Linked DNA regions of Homo sapiens: regions 1 and 3 are each linked to region 2. Evidence: promoter capture Hi-C in 16 types of primary human blood cells and fetal thymus (Javierre and others, 2016). All regions are on one chromosome and are shown on one strand. Each heading gives the region's core, a stretch centred on a gene start or on the middle of the fragment in contact. The rest is flanking DNA. Distances are from core to core; before and after follow the strand shown.

Region 1 (3,004 bases), core at 486-2,985, 590 kb after region 2:
TGGATTACAGGTATAAGCCACTGTGCTTGACCACCTGTATTACTCTCTAGGTACCATTAAAAGCACTCAATAAACACTGGTTGCACAAACATTGAATGGTGGCGATATATTTCTTCTATTATTTTCTTGAAATAGTCATTGAATTTTTATCCACTGATTTATTAACTCTAAATTTTCCAACACTTATCTTTGGAAAGACTGAATGAACAAACCCTACCTTATTAAGGCGCAGAAGCTAAGGAGTGTCCATCACAAAGGAAGCAAAGAGGATGGTTTGCATAGATTCCATTTGAATCTATTTGTTTTGGTTACTCTATTTAAAATATGCTTGCGTCATATGAAATTGAATTCCACTTACTTCCTTCTCCTTAAATCTTAATAAAGGAATTAGGCTGGCTGTTTGAGACTAAAAAATCCATCAAGAAGTTGTTTGCATTTTACTGAGATATTTGTTGAATTCAATATTTCCAGAAAACCCTCAAGATACTTGTCACTCTATAGGGACACAAAATTTTCTTATCTAATATGTACAATCTTTAACTTGACAATTTCACAAGGCATATTGATATAAATCATATTGCTCAATATCTGGTGACTCAGTAGAAAGTGATCTTCAGTTTCAACAAGCAGTCTTTTAATTCATGACGCTTTTTCTTAAGGAAATTAACCTGAGGACTTTTTCCCATACATCTAAAGAGTACTAGAAGTTGCTTTCAAAACATAGAGTAACTTGGTTTCCATGTAGTATTTATAAGAAAAAAAAATCTGTAGATATTCACTTATAAAGGCAAGCTTGGAATCCTCTAATTCGTCATTAAAGTGTGCTTTGTATGTAGGCAATCGCCTAACCATAGATACAAAACTGAGTTATCTTAAAATGGCTGATGGAACACTGGCTTTCCATGAAAATATTCAGTCTGAAAATGTAATACTCCTGCCAATCTAGATCAAAATAGAACTTGTTCTCCCTTAATAACGAGGTGTTCTATCTAAAAAACATTGTGCTCTCTCTCTTTGGTGGTCTAGCAGTTAGGAATAAAAATTAAAAATAAGTAAAATACACTTTTCTCTCAATCAAACTAATATTTACTGGTCACTATGGAAGCAAATGGGAGCGGACTAGTCAGGTATGCAAATAACCTTGCCTCGCCAGGTATAAAGTGACCTGCCACAGAAGTTTGGAAAAGGGAGGTAATATAAAGGGCTGGGATATGAGGACCACTCTTTACAGCAGAAAGGCATCTGAGCAGAGCCTTGAGGAGTACATAAAATTTCAACATATGGTATTAAATGGGAGTGGATTGGCAAGAATAGGACCAAAGAGCGTGTCCTCTGGAGTGTTTTCCCATAAAACTAAGTAATCATCACACCAGCTGAGAACCATAAGTTCCTTGACCCAGGTAGTCTGCACTTCCTTTTTAGAAGACGAATTTTTGTATCTTATTCCTCCTCAAAGGCTGGGCCAGGTATTATTGGCCATCCAGAAATAAGTCCCCAGTACTTAATGCAGCATCTGGCAGAAAATGTGGGCATGCCAAATACATGTAGGTTGAAATGATGTTTAGAAATATCACATTAGGTTTATACATTCATAACACATGATTGAAAAATTCCGGTAAACGGATTAGCTAAAATCCAATGAAAATTATTAATTAAGCCTTTCATTTGGCACAATTAAAAATAAAACCCTATGTTGATTGAATTTTTCATTTTGGATCCAATTATGCTGTCACATAGGTATAGCTGGAGTATATGAGTCACCCAAAATTCTATTAATCAAATCTAGAAATAATAATATAATAATGTGTGTTAATCATTCTAATACAGCAAATGAGACACAGAAAAACAAAACCAACAATATTGTAAATTACCCAATGATCAATCTTTGTTGGAAACAATGTCCTACTCAGCAGTGGGACAAGAGCAATACCTAAGAGTTGAACAACCCAGAAGAAAAAATATGAATCGTCAGGGAAAGTCTGCTTAGAGGGAAATAAGAATCCAAGGTGTATTGCTAGATTTTGCAATAACTAGATGTGGCAATACAGAAATGTGATTTTAATTGGAGGAGGAAGATAATTATAGCTTGCAAGCCAACTAGTTAATCTAAGTGACAAACTTTGGCCCCACACCCAAGAAAAGAGGGTGAACCCAAAATAGGAGTTTATCAAGTTTCCATTACAAATGTGTTCAAGACACCTGAGCCACCCTGAAACCAAACCCTGAAACCAAGGAGTGGTGAGGGGGGGGGGGGGGTTATAGGTTACTAATAATTAATTATTAAATTTAAATAGTTTCTATAAATTTACATATGAAAACAATAAATTCTGTGTTATATCTTTGGAAGTAGCATTATGCTGGTGATCAAGTGCAATGGGATAAAACACAGTTAGCAGGCATTCCTTAAAAAATATTCCCTAAGCTAATACTAGAAACAGAAAAAGAGAGGTCAGATTAATCCTACAGATTTAGAAGTGATCCAAGTTAAGGCAACCTACATGATAATGGAATTGAAAACCACGTCATCTAAGGAACAGTTGAATGAACTGGTGATCCATAACCTGGAAAATAAAAGACTTAGAAACACAGAGTAATCTTGTCAAATACCCAAAAGATTCTCCATCAGCAAAGCTATATTCTGTGTGGCAGATTTCAGTTAAATAGAAAGATAAGCTTTTTAATAATTAGAGCACTTCAAAGGAAGGTGAAGTGCTTCATGAGACAATGAGTTTCTCATCACTAGAAATATTTTAGTAGAGATTGGAGATATCTGATAAGGGGTTCCGTTTAGTGTTGAATATTTAACAAGAGAAGAAAGAAAGGACAGATGTCTATGAGTACCCACTGTGTAGAACACTTTGTAGAAGAACACTTTGTATGTGTTATCTAAATTGGTATTCTCAGATTTATGAATTGGATATTATTTCTCACGTGAAGATTAAAAGAGATTAAGCAATTTACCATACACCCTGTAACAGGCAATGCTGGAAGGTGAAGCCTGGCA
Region 2 (2,981 bases), core at 339-2,838:
GAGGTGTATGTTCAGCTTTTGTTCAATGCTCAGGGGACTGGCAAAAACTCATTTTCCCAAAATTCTAGTTATAATCACTTTGGATTGTTCCACATTAGGTTTTTCTTAGTCTCAGGGGTCTATGTATCTTCTGTCACAAATTTTGGGAGAAAAGTTTTGGGATCTCAGCAGCCATGTGTCTTGGATCCCTAGTACCAAGAACTATCTGAATGTGGAATGTGTAATATAACCATTTTAGGGACAGGACTTTCCCCTGGCATCTTCTGATTTAGCCCTTGGAGAAACTCTGTTTTATTGTATGAATACCTCCACATCTGTATTTTCTGAGATACAAAGGGAAAAATACACAATGTCAGATTTTTGTTTTACATCTTAATTTCAACTTCTTGCCCGGTTTCTAGGAATTTGAATCCTTCTTAGTTCTAGCAATGACACAGTAGTTATCCTTGGGGTGGAGGATTTGGAGGTGGTCAAGGTGAAGAAACAGTTTCTGGAGTTGAAAGAAGCTGATGTTGAGAATAGGCTTTATACTTTATAGTGAGGTTGATCTTAGAAAACTGTCCTCAATGGCTTGTTTATTTATTTTGTAAAATTAAGAGTACCCACCTCCCAGGTTGGAAGTAAAGATTAAAAGGTATCATTGCTCAATCCCCTAGCTCATAGGGTGAAGGCTCATGACTGACTTTAGAATAAAGGAAGCAAGGTATGAAGAGAGCCCACAGAGGCTCTGATCACTCAATGTCCTTTGACTTTCATGACCAAGTTCTTATTTGAGGTTCAGTAAGATTATTGCTCATTTCTCTTTGTTTATTTCTGGCTTCTTGAGCTTGCCCTTCTTGGTCGAGATAAGCCATGGTTTTTGGAGTCATCCTCATTTTCATGAGCTTCTCAGATACCTTGTTTGAAACATCACGTCTACCCAAGTTACAGTTGTTCCCCAATGGCAGGAACTATTTTGTGCTTAACCAACTATATATCAAGCATCAGCAAGGTGCGTAGCATATGGGACGTAGCCAGGGGATGTGTTTTGAGTGACTGGATTCATCTAAGTCTTGTTGCTCCTCAAAGTGAGTCTGAAAGGCAACCAACTAAAGAAAGAAGAAATGTAGGACTTCTTGATAACCCAAGGCCATAACATCCACCAATTCCAAGACTCAGTTTCTTCCCTGGATAGGGAAGGCTGGTTGAGTCTTAACCCAAGTGAGAACCATTGTCATCACCGGGGTTAGTCCTCCTGCTACACCACTGACCAACAGGAAAGTTTGTGTCTCCAGAGTGGACACATCCATAAAGAGGCCAAACCCAGTCAAGGTCTAAGCATCTGATGGCTATAACTTTGCTTCTTTGAAAGATAATAAAAAGCTTCTGACCTCCCATCAACAGCCAACCTGATTTCAAAGAGCCAAGAGGCCTCAGATTCGTCAACATTCCTTTAACGAGCTGAGAAACTTTTCATGGTAAACTCAGCAGCTGAGTAACAGGATGATGGCACCACAACAGGTAGATAATCAAGGCAGGAGGTCAAAGCATTGGAGCCAACACCCGCCCAGGATGGGGTATAAAAGGGCTGGGAGGAGAGGAGGCTTCAGTCTCAGTGGTTCAGCTTTCCCAGCTGATCTGAAGCTCCTGTGCAGCCTCAGCCCAACACCATGACCTCTTCCTACAGCAGCTCCTCATGCCCTCTGGGTTGCACCATGGCTCCTGGAGCAAGAAATGTCTCTGTCTCTCCCATCGACATTGGGTGCCAGCCTGGGGCAGAGGCCAACATTGCCCCCATGTGCCTTTTGGCCAACGTGGCACATGCCAACCGAGTCCGTGTGGGGTCCACTCCCCTGGGCCGCCCCAGCCTCTGTCTGCCGCCTACCTGCCACACTGCTTGTCCCTTGCCAGGGACCTGCCACATTCCTGGCAACATTGGAATCTGTGGGGCCTATGGTGAAAACACCCTGAATGGCCATGAGAAGGAGACCATGCAGTTCCTGAATGACCGCCTGGCCAACTACCTGGAGAAGGTGCGCCAGCTGGAGCAGGAGAATGCGGAGCTGGAGGCCACACTCCTCGAGAGGAGCAAGTGCCACGAGTCCACCGTGTGCCCCGACTACCAGTCTTACTTCCACACCATCGAGGAGCTCCAACAGAAGGTGAGGTGTGGGATCGCTTGGGTGTGCTGGGTCTGAGATGGCAGAGGCAAGACAGGAGGAATCCATGTAAAGCTCAGAGAACTTTGGGTTCTTGGTTTCTCTTGGACATGATCATAGACACCACACGTGGAGAAGGAGCCTAGGGCATGATGCTTTGTGTGTGAACTGTCTTCCTGTTCTCCTCAGATCCTGTGCAGCAAGGCCGAGAATGCCAGGCTGATTGTACAAATTGACAATGCCAAGCTGGCTGCCGATGACTTTAGGATCAAGTAAGTCAGGCGGAGGAGGGCCAGGGTGACTCCTTCCCCACCCTCCATCCCAATGCCCAAATACTTGTTGAGTGAGGGAATCATTGTCATTTCTTCCTTGCTAGATTCTCTACAGTAAAATTTTCATTACAATCGAAGCTGATGGAAGATGGAAGGGAAAACTCCTCATTAATCCAAGCATATATGTTTGTCTTCCTTCATTTATTTCCCTAAAATGGAGGATAAGGCAGCCTGAGTTCATTAACCAGGAGCAAAATGAGGTGATTTGAAGGATGAACTGAGCAAGACAGCCATTGGGTTTCATATATAAGTCAGAGGAGTCACTTACAGATGAGTCTTTGTCCAGATTTAATTAGGGAGCCCTAAGGTACCAGGTATAAGGTACCTAGGCAAAAATGAGAGAGGGGAAGACAGCTGAAAGCAAGGGATAAGGAGCCGCAGATCACGATCAGGCACCTGGTTATTGCTTATCTTTGGTAACTGACAGCCCCTGCAATGGCATGAGCGTTGGACTGGGTCCCAAGATGCATGATCTTACGCAAGTCAGTTGATCTTCCTGAACTGCAGTTGC
Region 3 (2,864 bases), core at 62-2,561, 700 kb after region 2:
GTTTTCTTCCCTTCTGACACCAACTCAGTGTCCTACAATTCAATTCAATTCTAACACTAACACCCTGGAGTTAGTGTCAGACTCCACGTGTCTAAAGGCTCAGTCCCACAAGACTGTCCTCACATCAGATACCAGCCACAAGTATCAGGCCCGCAGGTTACCCACACTTCTGTCTGACATGGCTACAAATTCAGGGTTCTCACAACCTCCCCCTCCGCAAAGTTCAATAATTCTCTAGAATGACTCACAGAACTCAGGTAAGTGCTTTACTTATTATTGTGGGTTTACTATAAAGGATACAACTCAGCAACAGCTGAATACAAGAGATGCCCGGGGCAAGGTCAGGGGCGAGGAACACGGAGCTTCCATGCCCTGTCCGGGTGGGCCACCTCCCAGCACCTTGATGTGTTCACCAATCCAGAAACTCTCTGAACCCCCTCATTTAGAAGCTTTTATTGAGGTTTCATCATGTAAGCATGATCGATTATTAACTCAGTCTCCAGCCTCTGTCCCCTCTCTGGAGGGTGGGGAAGGGTTAGGGCTGAAATGTCTAGGCTTCTCATCAAGGTTTGGTCTTTCTGGCAGCCAGCCCCCATCCTAAAGCTACTTAGCGGCCCACCAAGAGTCACCTCATTAGAACCAAAGATGCTCCTATCACACAAGAAATTTCAAAGGATTTAGGAGCTCTGGGTCAGGACAAGAAAAGATGCTTCTATCACTGAGGAAATTACAAGGATTTTAGAAGCTGTGTGCCAGGAAATAGAGACAAAGGCCAACTATATATTTCTTATTATTTCACAGCAAGTAATAAAGAAAACTCAGGATAGTGATGACACCTGAGCAGTAATAGGGGAGATATCACTGGGGAGAAACAGCAGGGTCTCTAAGATACAGGTATGTTTTACTATTATTTATTATTTAAACTACACAATTTCTAAATTTTTTGTATGCAGGAAATTATACAATGAAAAATTTTTAAGCAGATGACAAAAATAATACCAATATTTTAAGTAAAGAAAGTGACTAATGACTAGAAAATAACGATGCTATTGAGAGATGCAGCAAACTGAAAAGGGATTCAGTGGAATGGAAAGGTGGCGAGTTTAGCTTAGAACACAAGCACGAAGGTGAGAACAATCAATCAATTTTCTAAGAGAAAGAATTGGAGCAGGAGGGGAGGTTTTGGATTGCATAGGAGAGAGGTAACCACTGATACCTTGAAAGTCGATCAGAAAGAAGAACTCTGCAGACAATGAAGACCCGAGGTCAGGAACACATTGAGCAGTGGATGAGGATGCAGATAGACATGAATTAGAAAATAGGGTTAGGACGGAAGCGGTGGCTTACACCTGTAATCCCAGCACTTTGAGAGGCTGAGGGAGGAGGATGGCTTGAAGTAAGGAGTTCTAGACAAGCCTGGGTCACATAGCAAGACCTCATCTCTACTTTAAAAAAAAAAAAAAAATTAGCCGGGCATTGTGTGGAGTGCCTGTAGTCCCAGCTACTCGGGAGGGTGGGGTGGGAGGGCCACTTGAGCCCCAGAGATGGAGGCTGCAGTGAGATATGATCACACCACTGCACTCCAGCTTGGGCAGTAGAGCAAGACCCTGTCTCAAAACAAAAAAAAAAGGGTCGGAGGAACCCAGGAGGGAGGAGAGTTAAGGTAAGTCAGGAGACTTTGTTTGCATTGTTTGTCTTGAGTTCCCAGAGCAAACAATGCAGCCCCAACAAATGTGTGCATAAAAGACATTCCCCGCCAAATAGAAAACACTTTGTTGGTTTTATGCCCCTTGGGTTCTGTGCCACTGTTCCCATCCATTTAATAACAATAATCAAGAATGTTCTCAAAAATAAGACTCTTATTCAGTAATAGAACTACTTCATTTGGAAAGTGATTTTTGAAATAGAATAATTACTATGTTGCAGAAAGAAAACAACTTTCTGGAGATGTTTCCAGAGCTTCCACTAACACAGTGTAGCCAGTGTGTCTTCATGGCTCCCTAGCAAAGCTGTTTCTCTTCCATCTGCCACTGTGGCTTCTGTCATTGCTAATTCTTGGTTCATAGCAATTATGAGATTTTCAGGTATTTACATTAATGTCTTACTAGATAAAGTCTTACTTCATAGGGAAACCAAATCTTATAATATTGCATCTGTCCTTACTTAAGCTTAAAGTTATATCCGCATAGACCTGCACAGGTAATAAAACTGCCCAAATGGTGGATGTATATTCAGTTAGGGATAATCTAAGAGAAGGTGGAAGATAGCATTGAAATTGATATTTCATAGTCACCACCTTTATTCTGCAAACATTTCTGATTTGTTCTTTTAAAACACCTATCACTCTGCCCCTTGGAGAATGCTTACAAATATTAACTAAAAACTGTGTATTCATAGTTTTTGTGTGAAATAATTCCAACTCGGTTCCATTTCTCCTTTAATCTTTGTAGAAAAATGTGGATACATCAGTTTGAGCAAAGGATGACTGATGTCTGTTATCCATTAGTTTGGTCAACAGATATCAATACAGTGCCCACTTCAATCCTATGGGAGTGTGAATCTAGGGGAATCCAGACAAACTGGCCCCTGCTTTCATGGAGCTTGTGTATTAAGATGATACCTGGGATTTAATTTACAGGCACAACTGAGTGACAATACAGAGGGGACAGTGCCACTAAAGATTTGTATTACTTACGTTTCCCAGAGAAGGAAGCATGTCATTCTGTGCAAGACCACGTGGGGAGCACCGATGTGGGCCAGGAGGCAGAAAGGAATGAGGAGAAAGAGCCTAGACCAGAGCCTTTATTGGGGTTTCCACGGGAGAGCCAAGGCAGGGTAGGGTAGGCAGCTTAAGACAGACTGGT

Evidence for each region. The method cuts DNA at HindIII sites, captures the fragments that hold promoters and counts their contacts. A CHiCAGO score of 5 or more calls a contact.
Region 1: a contact is called between a fragment that was not itself captured here and the fragment with the promoter of KRT38 in region 2, in 2 of 17 cell types (erythroblasts and M0 macrophages). The highest score is 8.1, in erythroblasts.
Region 3: a fragment that was not itself captured here is called in contact with the fragment with the promoter of KRT38 in region 2 in 1 of 17 cell types (endothelial precursors); the score reaches 5.3 in endothelial precursors.

What each region holds. Positions count from the first base shown.
Region 1 is chr17:40,848,074-40,851,077 of GRCh38, reverse strand. LOC105371777 (a long non-coding RNA gene) reads right to left here and starts at 280. Exons shown (of 3, transcript XR_934754.3): 1 at 218-280. The HindIII fragment of the contact is 1,881 bases long and covers 795-2,675 here.
Region 2 is chr17:41,439,590-41,442,570 of GRCh38, reverse strand. KRT38 (keratin 38) reads left to right here and starts at 1,588. Exons shown (of 7, transcript NM_006771.4): 1 at 1,588-2,141; 2 at 2,328-2,410. The coding sequence starts at 1,650. RefSeq lists an enhancer at 1,432-1,932. The HindIII fragment of the contact is 7,679 bases long and covers 1,365-2,981 here.
Region 3 is chr17:40,738,629-40,741,492 of GRCh38, reverse strand. No RefSeq gene overlaps it. Among named protein-coding and RNA genes, the nearest start is that of KRT25, 15 kb to the left of the region's middle. The HindIII fragment of the contact is 1,719 bases long and covers 452-2,170 here.